Regions from separate parts of the Homo sapiens genome. Here region 2 is linked to region 1. The links are contacts of gene promoters, found by promoter capture Hi-C in blood cells and fetal thymus (Javierre and others, 2016). All regions are on one chromosome and are shown on one strand. The core of a region is centred on a gene start or on the middle of the fragment in contact, and the rest is flanking DNA. Distances in the headings are between cores, read along the strand shown. Region 1 holds the start of DCTN4 (dynactin subunit 4). Region 2 overlaps NDST1 (N-deacetylase and N-sulfotransferase 1).

Evidence for each region. The method cuts DNA at HindIII sites, captures the fragments that hold promoters and counts their contacts. A CHiCAGO score of 5 or more calls a contact.
Region 2: a contact is called between a fragment that was not itself captured here and the fragment with the promoter of DCTN4 in region 1, in 3 of 17 cell types (erythroblasts, M0 macrophages and naive CD4 T cells). The highest score is 5.8, in erythroblasts.

The regions. Positions count from the first base shown.
Region 1 is chr5:150,756,286-150,761,049 of GRCh38, reverse strand. It overlaps DCTN4 (dynactin subunit 4), which reads left to right and starts at 2,033. Exons shown (of 13, transcript NM_016221.4): 1 at 2,033-2,191; 2 at 4,563-4,633. The coding sequence starts at 2,057. RefSeq lists enhancers at 1,958-2,257, 2,688-2,757. The HindIII fragment of the contact is 18,997 bases long and covers 1-2,920 here.
Region 2 is chr5:150,555,554-150,560,698 of GRCh38, reverse strand. It overlaps NDST1 (N-deacetylase and N-sulfotransferase 1), which reads right to left. Exons shown (of 15, transcript NM_001543.5): 15 at 2,488-5,145. Among named protein-coding and RNA genes, the nearest start is that of NDST1, 50 kb to the right of the region's middle. RefSeq lists an enhancer at 3,422-3,591. The HindIII fragment of the contact is 2,371 bases long and covers 1,658-4,028 here.

The sequences.
Region 1 (4,764 bases), core at 784-3,283:
CAGGATTGAGAAGTGAATGAGGGTGAGTCCAGGGCTGGGTAGAGTGAAAAAGCAACACAAGGCTACATTATCAAGCTGGTCACCATTGTGCATAACTAGGACTCGATCCTGCTAGAACCCTGAGCCTTTGAGGATGGAAAGTATCTCATTTATCGCTAGTTCCCTCCCCAGTACCTGGCATGTAGCAGGGACAAGATAATTGGCCACTTAATTATTTAAAATCAGTGCTCTAAAAAGTGTCTGTTTTATGTGGATTCAGCTCAAGTCTCCAGCCTTTCTGTACCTGCAGGCTCTGGGACTTCATTTTAACAGCATAGTCCAGAAAAGGGAATTTAAACTCAGTAGAGACTAGTTTATAAACCAGAAAACCAACGAATTCATTAACCTAAAGAAATAATTGCAAATGAGTTGGCTAGTAATATATTCTCTCCTAGGAGCAGATGTCACCTATGAAACTAAATTAGTGCCAGGCTATTGCTTGGTGAACAAGTAATGACTTTTAGGCTCAATTGGTAAAGCGTGACATAAATTGTGAGATTAGCACTGTATAAGCTGAAAAGGTCTATATAAATGTAAGGTATTATTAACATCACCATATTAGAAAATATGCTGGAGGGAGTATACATAGGGGTTATACCTGCAAGCACTAGAGTCAGAGAGAAAAGGGTTCTACCTCCATCTATGAAACCTTATAGAGGAGTCACTGCACTTCCCTGTGCCTCAGTTTCCTGCTCTGTAAAATAGAAATAATGATAGCCACATGCTTTTTGGAGCTGTTGTAAGAATTAAATTAGACAATGTATGTAAAGTTTTGACACAGTGTGCTGCACTTAATAAGTGCTCAATAAATGTTTGCTAATAGTATTCAGTTCCCTTTCTTCTCAATCACCAACTCTAACGTCAGACAGGTAATAATACAACACTACTACAATTATAAAAATGTAGACCTGGTGGCAGGCAACAGAGGCTCCAGTTTCTGCTAGGCAGTTCTAGGTGGTCATTTTACATACTGGGGAGTCCCAGTTAGAGAAAGGGAGTCAGGCTAGTGGGACCAAGGGATAGCAAGAAGAGCAGATGCACTCTAAGTCTGCCTTTCTTCATGGTGCAGGACACGTAGCCCTCCTGTGCAAATAACTCACAATCTTCCTGCACTCAGCTATCACGAGACACATGCAAGTTAGCTCCCTGTAACCTTGGAGTTCTCGGTACTGCACAGCACTCTGCAGCCCAAGAACCATCGGATAAAATCTCCAGCAAGCCTTTGTTTCCTTGAAGTCAGCTCCTCTCTGGCTGGTCTGCCCATTGCAACCTTTCAACGTATTTTCATACCTTCTCTAATAAATCTGCATTTCTTTACCTAAAACTGTTGATAAATTATTTTCCCACCCATGTAATACCAGTCTCACGTAGTCGCTGCTCACCCAAGAGGCAGACCTGAGCCTTAGTTTACACATTAGAAAAACGTAGACGCCTACCAACATTGTTCATTCATTGATTTCATTCCCTCCTTTTCATACTTATTGAAGGTCCACAATACAGACTTAGACCTAACGCTAACTATGTACTCAAAAACCTGCGTTTCAAATGAGATAATGTATGTGAAAGTTCCCAAAGGCCATTGGCAAGACTCAGAAGACAGTGCTGGTGTGACTCCTGTCTTGCAGTCCCCACGGAGCCCTGTCCCTTTGAGACCTTCCATTTGTCTCCTGGATGCTCGCCTGTTAAGTGGGGCAGAGGAGGCCGTCGTAAATAAGACAAAAGATCAGGCTTCCATTCTGGAAGAAAAGAATAAAAGGAGCTCACTGAGTCCAGACCTAATGGCAGTAAGGGCAGTGGACGCTCACAAAAGCGCTGGGGGACGGGCCCAGAGTTGGGGAGAAAACAGGGATCCCAGCTGCGCACGCGCGCTCTGGTTTTCGACGGGCGCAGAGCCGGACGAGGTGGGAAACCTAACGTCAAAGTCTACGTAGGAAGTCGTAGGGAAGGCAGCGAGGAAGACGCTGGCTCTCGGGTCACGTGATGCGCCGGGAGCGTCATCGCCTCCTCCCTCCCCAAGATGGCGTCCTTGCTGCAGTCGGACCGGGTTCTCTATCTAGTCCAGGGAGAAAAGAAGGTTCGGGCCCCGCTCTCGCAACTCTACTTCTGCCGCTATTGTAGCGAACTGCGGTCGCTGGAATGTGTGTCTCACGAGGTAACAGAGTCGCCCTATAGCGAGTATGTGGGGTGGGGGGGGCGCGGCGTTCATGCTAGTCACTGCCACCGGAAGGCTGGAGCTATTTTCCTTCCTTACTGATTGGTTATGTCTTCCGTCACTCGGGTTTGCCTGCGATTTAATTTGCTTCTAATCTGTCACTTGGAAAGGAGGAGCAGCCTCGGGTGGGACTGAGCGGATCTTCTGGTTCTAGAGCGGCCTCTGATTGGACAAACTTGACTTAGGGACCGTGTCTGTCTGCGATGGGGCTTGGTAATTGGGTGGACTACGGAGAAAGGTCTGGGGGTGCTTAGTTCAGGCCACTTAAGGGGCGAAAAACTGCCTTTCCAGGATTTATTGCGAGGATGGAGGGAGGCGCAGGCGTTCTCATTCATAGTTCTCCCATCCTGAAAGTTCTGTTCCTCTTTTGTCCAGAAACTGGGCCCTCGTCAGACTGCCTTGCCCTGTTCCTGACTCAGGCCAAGGCCTGCAGCCGGGAAGAGGTTGGGGCGGCGTGAGTTATGTGAAAAGCGCTCAGAATACAGTATGTCATGTAAGAAGCTGAAAGTGTATTTATGGAGCTAGAGGACAATGCTGTCCTTCCCTGGCACAAGTGGGCGTCCGAAGTTGGATTTTTCAAAAAGAAGACCCCGGCCAGTAAAAAGTCACCAAATAACAAAACCCCAAAACTTCTGCAGCGCTTGGCACATCTTGTTTATTCAGTAAGCTTTAGGGATTAAAAGGCGAGTAAGACATAAAATGCGCTGTTTAATAAGCCATAGTCTTAGTGAAGAAAAAGCTGATAGTAGTAATAGTTGCTGCTTATTCGATACTTGCTATATGTCATGTGCTTTATGTAATCTTCAAACCAATTTAAGTGGATACTTTTTTTAAAAAATTTTTTTTACAGGTAAAGAAACAGATACAGAGTGTTCGCTGTAAGTCACACAGCCAGTAATTTGGGGGTGGGAAGGAGGACCTGGATTTGAATCTAAACAGCCTAACTCAGAGTGTTTTTTACTGAAGATCCCGGGACTGTTAAAATAAATGCATATGAAAACACATACTATAAGCCATTTTATGTGTTATTAATAACTTATTTTATTGAAGATACTTTTCATAATAGGAATAGTCAAGAAAAGCAATTAAATAATACAAGAAAAATCGTATATATTAAAAATATGGCATCGATTTTTCTTCTCATCTCCATTAGCACTTTCCTTATGTGTATCTCCTTGATGATTCCCTATTCCAGCTCCACCTCCAGAATTTATTGGATCATATTCTCCTGTGGTGAATAGAGTGCTCAGTCTCCATGATCTGTCTCTAAGACTCTCTTCAATTAGGACATCCAGTCTGTGACAGCATCTTTTACAGCCTGATGTGTACCTGTGATATGGAGGCCATTAGAGTTTAGGGAAAGATGAAGCTCTGAGGGCTGGGGCAGGCAGTGAAGTTCTAATGGAGAATCTGGGTCTGGAGCTGCACATGAACGGACAAGCAGAATTTGGAAAGGGGGCAAAAAGGAATGACTTGTATTTTGCCTTTTTTGATGAGTCAGTGCAGAGGTTAGTTAGCAATATTGTATTTTATGTTCCTGGAGATTATTTGAGCAACAACTTTATTAATCTTTTCAAATTGACCTGTTTATAGCAGATGATGAAAAAAGCCAGTTTCTATCATAGTATTTATGTTCCAGTGATTGTCTTTTCATTTGCAGGTGACTAGAGTTCTATAATTGTCAAATAGGACCTACATTAAAGAAAATAATTATTCAGACTTTTAAAAAATAAAATGAACTTAAATTTTAGACTCCAGTTTTTTAAGTACAATAAGACTGTCCCATTAATTTGTTTAAAAATCTCTAATTGGTTGGCCATAGCTGACTATGTAAATAAATATTTATGCTTGCCTTCAGTCAACCTGTATTACTTCAATAATGAGAAATCTTTAAAAAAATGTCCTTCAAAACCTAAAAGTATGGTCAAGTTTTATAGTCATATAAAGCTAGCCTAGACAGGAGGATATTTTATCACAATGTTACAAATTGGATTATTTTATTAATCTCTTTATTAATCATAGAATTCTATGGAGTTCAACTGGAAATTGTAGATTGTTAAATAAACAACTTTTAACACATAAAACCCTGATGATGGAATAGGAAAGATCAGAAAAATAGAAGGATTTTTTAAATCCGGAAGAAGAAGAAAAAAAAAAAACAGGTGACTGAAGAAGAATAAACCCTAAGCAGAAAACAGTCTACTTTCTGCTACAGTATAACATATTTTAAAATTCACTATTTGACAAGACATATACACAAGTTAAACTGAGTTCTCCTCTGGTTTTTTTTTTCTTTCTTGTTTCCTCCTAGGTGGACTCCCATTATTGTCCCAGTTGTTTAGAAAATATGCCATCGGCTGAAGCCAAACTAAAAAAGAATAGGTAAGACCTGGACTGATTTTTTTTTTCTTCCTATTTTCCTTGACTGTTCTCTAAAATAGCTAGTTAAAAAGACACATGGGCCAGGCATGGTGGCTCACGCCTGTAATCCCAGCACTTTGGGAGGCGGAGGC
Region 2 (5,145 bases), core at 1,594-4,093, 200 kb after region 1:
GGAGTTCAAGCCAGTTATTTTGCAAAATGTCCCTCAATACGGATGTGTCTGTCTGTTCCCCTTGGCTGGATTCATGTCCCGTGTTTTCGTTAGGAATTTCCCAGGTGTTGCACTGGGTCCTTCCCATTGCATCATATCGGGAGACATGGTGTCAATTTGTTCCAGCAATGGTGATGTTAACCCTAGCTCCCCCGTCTGTCAGCTTGGGGAAGCTAAGCTCCCAGGGCCAGAGAGGAGCTGAGACTGGCCTACAGTCACAGGAAAGTCAGGATCCTCAGCTCAGGGTCTTCACGAATGCTTAGGATAAATGCAGCCAGGCAAGAAATTGATCACCGGCACCTAGGCCTCCTCCAGATCCTAACTCCATAGGAGCTTAAGGGCTGGGTAAAGCAGTGTTGGCCTTCATCGCATCGTCATGTAAGTCTAGCTGCTTGGAGTCCCCCTTTCTGCTTTGTCCATTTCTATTTTTCATTAAGACTTTTTCATTCCACAAATGATATGCAAATGCATTATCCTTGTCTTATATATATTTCAGCCAAGGCTGAAGTCTCCTTTGAAAGTTCCCCTTCTCAGTCTTTCCTCCCCTAGTATCAGTTTGATATGAGACGTCTATCTACAACCCCAGGAAAAATACAAACTGTAGTGTTCTCTTTCCATGATGGTCACATTGTATAAGTCTGTCATAGAAATTTCCCTGGCAGGGCTTGGAGACTGAGCTCATTACTTTCAACTGAATCATCATTACAGTGAATGGATACACTGGAGGTTACCTAGCTGAGACCCTGTGGATGGACATCTAGGTTGTTCCCAGCGTTTTCCTATTGTGAAACACACTGCCCTACACGCATGATCCAGGCTTCTCCAAGGTAACTCCCCACCTCTAGAAGCCCAAACCACTCCTGGGGCACCAGATTTACTGGGTGGACATCCCCGTGGGGGGTGAGGAGGGGCTGATGGGCTGCTACTCATTCAGCCTATTAGAACTGCAGGACTTTTAGGACCTCTGGAAGCAACTGGGCTGGGTTTTCACAATGTGTTTTGAGAAATCTTAGGGTTCCAAGATAGCCTGAGAGACAGGGAGGAGGTGAGCTGGGAAGAGTCCAGAGCTTCACTCCCACTCCAACCACAGAGCACCCCCACCTTTACCTGGTTTTCAATTAAGTGATTCTTTCAAAACAGAATCTCAGCTGTATGTAAATTCAAAAATCCCTGTTGCAGGCTGACCCCTCAGTTGGCACAGTCACCTTTCTGCACCATGCCTCTGGATCTGCTCTTGTCCATGCAGCCTCCAGCTGTGTTCTTGCTGGTGAGGGCCACCTGACCCAAACCAAGCTCCCAGCTGACGAACTGCAAAGAGGGCTCTGCAGGTGCTGCCCTTGTGCCATCAGAGGTGGCACTGTGGTATTTCACTTTGAACATACTGGGTCCTGGGAAGCAGGACTGCCCAGCTGTGTCCCCAGCATGCCCCTCCTCTGTCCCTCAGAAGCTGTGCACATTTCTGGGTACCGTCTCTGACAAACATGGTGGCCTGATTCAGTGTTCCCAAACTTCCCTGAACACCAAGGAGTCTGTTAAAGTACACAGTGCTGGGTCCCACCCCAGAGGTTCTGAGTGAGCAGATTTTGGGGGAGCCCAGGAATGTATATTGTTTAAAGCTTCCCAAGGGGATTCTGAAGGAGCATGTCTGATCACCTGCATTGCAGACACTGGCCTGGGCCCCTACCTGTGAACTCTCCTTCTCCAGGCAAATCTCGAGTCTGGCCCTCAATTAGGCTGTGAGGGCTTCAGTCATTTGTTTTACCCTAAGTTTTCCTGGACAGTGGGGCTCTCCGTATTAATTAGAACCCATAGGAACCATGGATCTGAGTCAGAGTTTCCCACTCTGAGCCAGAGTTACACTGGGCTGCCTCAGTGTACTGGAGGGCTCCTTATAAATTCCTCAGTGTACTGGAGGGCTCCTTAAAGATGTTGGGCCCCACCCCACATCTGCTGGAGCTGAATCTCTGGAAGTAGACCTGGGAATCTGCATGTTTTAGGCAAGTTCTTCAAGTGAGGCCATGGAGTCCAACTCCCTCCATGCGTCTAAAAGGTGAGGGAAATGGGATAAAACAGTAAAAGTGGCTTGCCCCCAGCTACAATATACATTAGTAGCAGAAATTGTTCCAGCCCCCAAGTCTCCTCTCGGTCCAGTGCCCGACACCCAGGGCTTCTGAGCAATCCAGCTTGTCTGAGGGCTTCTATCACCTGAGATGCCCCCTGTGGCTGCCCTAGGATAGGCCTCTGCTGTATCTGGGAAATCTTCCATTTATAACCCAGTGAAAATGATCTGCGTTGACCAAGTCACCATGTGTATAGGTGTGTGCATACATGTGGGCACGTGTGCATGCCTGAGGTGGCAGGGACAAGCGGGCTTTGGCCGTGCATGCAAACACCCCTACTCCACCCTTCCCTGCGGGCCTTGCAAAAAGGTCAGACAGGACCAAGGTGTACAAACAGAACCCCACTTTATTAGCAGTTAGTTCGAGATTGTACATTAATGGAGGAAGGTCTCACCTTTAACACAACCCAAAACGGCTGGTTCGAGAGCCCTCATCAGGCGAACTGGATAGCACCCCCTCTCCCCACTCTCCCCACCCCCCTACAAGGGAAGGAAACCTCTGCCTGCTTCCCCAGTGTGCCCCCCACCCTCTCCAGTCGGCCCTCTCCTCTCCCAGGAAATGACATGAATTTCATGCACAAATTACAAAAGGAGCCCTCTTGCTAATAATAAAAGCTAACACAGTCATAGAAAACCCTCTCCTCCCTCATTCTCCTCCAGGGCCGGAAACAGTAAGAGCAGGAGGGATGAACTTCTTAGGATAAAACGCATCCAGTTTCCCCCAGGTTCCTGGCATTGACCCCACAAAACCCTATGCCAGTCCCTTAGGGAAGCTGAAAACTCGCCAGCCGTCTGAGCTGGCAAGGGCAGCCAGCCCACAGCTGTCAAGCCAGGAACCCAGTGTTGCCTCAACGGCCTGGGCAGCAGGGGGTCTAGGCCGCCCCCTCATCCTCACATCAACTAGAGCAGAGGCTGCCTCCTTTGATGTGTGAAAATCCCTGCTGTGGCCCCTATCTGCTCATTCTACAGATGAAGAAACTGAGGGCCTGGGAGGAAGATGGTCAGGCAGCTACTAAATGCACCCGGCTGGGATGAAACTTCACAGCTCCTGCTGCCAGCCAGGGCTCTTCTCACACCACAGCTTGCGGGAGGCAGTTCCCCATGTAGGCTTTTCCCTGCTGCAACTGAGAGCCTGGCTCTGCTCCAGTGCACACAGACCACGGGTCTCCAGGAAATGAAAACCCTGGGACCCCAAAATAGAAAGAGAGAGACATATGATGTGTTTGGTGCCCTGTGGCCCATCCCCAGGGTCGAAGGCCCAGCCTTCAGGCATGCAGCCTCCTCCTTCCAGAGCCCTGTGTCCTTCCTTCCAAGGCCCAGATATTACGGCCTTCTCCAGGGAGACTTTCCGGCCCCCCCAGAGCTCTTGCTCTAACTGGCCCCTCTGCTGTTTTGGCACTTGGTACAGGTGACAGTGGAGGCGCATCTTAGGCAGAAGTGAAGCTGTCAAGTCAGCACAAAAGGCAAAATCTCATGTAGCCTAAATTATCCTTGAAAGTACAGGGGATAGAAGAAGTGGTTATGCGACACCATGAGCAAACAATCTGACAAATTCAGAATGTGGGGCTTCAAAAAGACAGCAGGCCTAGGGCCTCAAAAACAATGTCATTTAAAAACTCAAAGTGAGCTGAGGGAAGACCTTTCAGCATTCAAAGAGGTTTTAAAAACATAGTTAGAAAATGCAATGTGTGCACCGTGACTGGATGCTGATTCCAAAACCAGACACATAAGTTACCTGGGAGACAATTGGGGGGATTTGAATACAGATTAGATAGCAGACATCGCTGGGAAATGACTTCTCGTCTTGGCTGTGATACTGGGCCAATGTGTAGGACAATGCCCTAACTCTTAGGAGATGCAGGCTGAAGCTTTCAGGGATCAAGTTTCATGATGTTTGCAATGTACTTTTAAATTAGGACAGAGAAAACATATACATACACAGAGAGAGAAAAAGAATGTGGCAAAATGTTAATAATTTTAGATCTAGATGCTGGGGAGTGGGCATTCATAATTAAATGTTTGGTAAAACATTGTTGTATTTGCTTTTCCCACTAACAAGCCCATGGGCACAGCTCTGTGCTGGGACCACCAACCTCTGCAGGTCAGCGCAGCAGCTCTCCTCTGCTGGGAACAGATGGCTTCCTTAGCTGGGCCCAGAAGCACTGACTGCTCATCAGGGGGGCTCAGAAAAGGCCCATTTTTAAACTTCAGACTCATCCTCCAAGCAGCAGGATGCTCCACCACAGAAGGCTCTGGAACTCTGAATGACTGAGGCAGCTGCAGGTGACACTCGCACCTGCACCCACCCTGGGGCAAAGGCTCATGGAGGGGACCACAGAATAGACGATGGAGCCACCTGAACAATTTCAGTTATTTCTCTCTCCTTTTTTTGGCCAAATGCTTAGAGTGAATTAGTGGACATTGAAGACTGGCCTCGCTGGCCCACTCATCTGTGGCTTCTCTTCTCGGGAGGGGGTGTCCTTGTACCCATTAGCTAACAGCCCCCCAGGCAGCTTATCTGCCTCTCCTTCTACCCCCCATACCTGCAAGTCCCGGCAGTGTCTGGACCTAGTGGGTCTTCAAGAAAGGTCTGTTAGTGGGAGGAGAAGTGGCAGCAGTGACCTAGGCAGACAGACTTGGAACATGTGGCAGGTCCAGTCTCCAGGCTTGCAGAAGGGTCCAGGCAAAAATCCAGAAGATCTCTGCTGTCACAGGATTTCCAACCGCCTGCTCCTTCCCATAGCCAGAGGCAGAGAGAAGTGGAGCTCCTGCCCTAGGCCAGCCCACCTCTCCTGCCTTCCATGCTCTGCGAGAGAGGCCTCCAGGCCTAGAGGGTAGATTTCCGAACCTGGGAGCTGTAAGATCCTCACCCATCCCGCAGCCCAGTCCCCTCACTGACGGATGGGACTCTGGAAGTCACTGCCCCTCTCTATAAGCCCCTGGCTCCATGGCGTGGGCATGTCTTCATGAGCACACAAGCAGACATG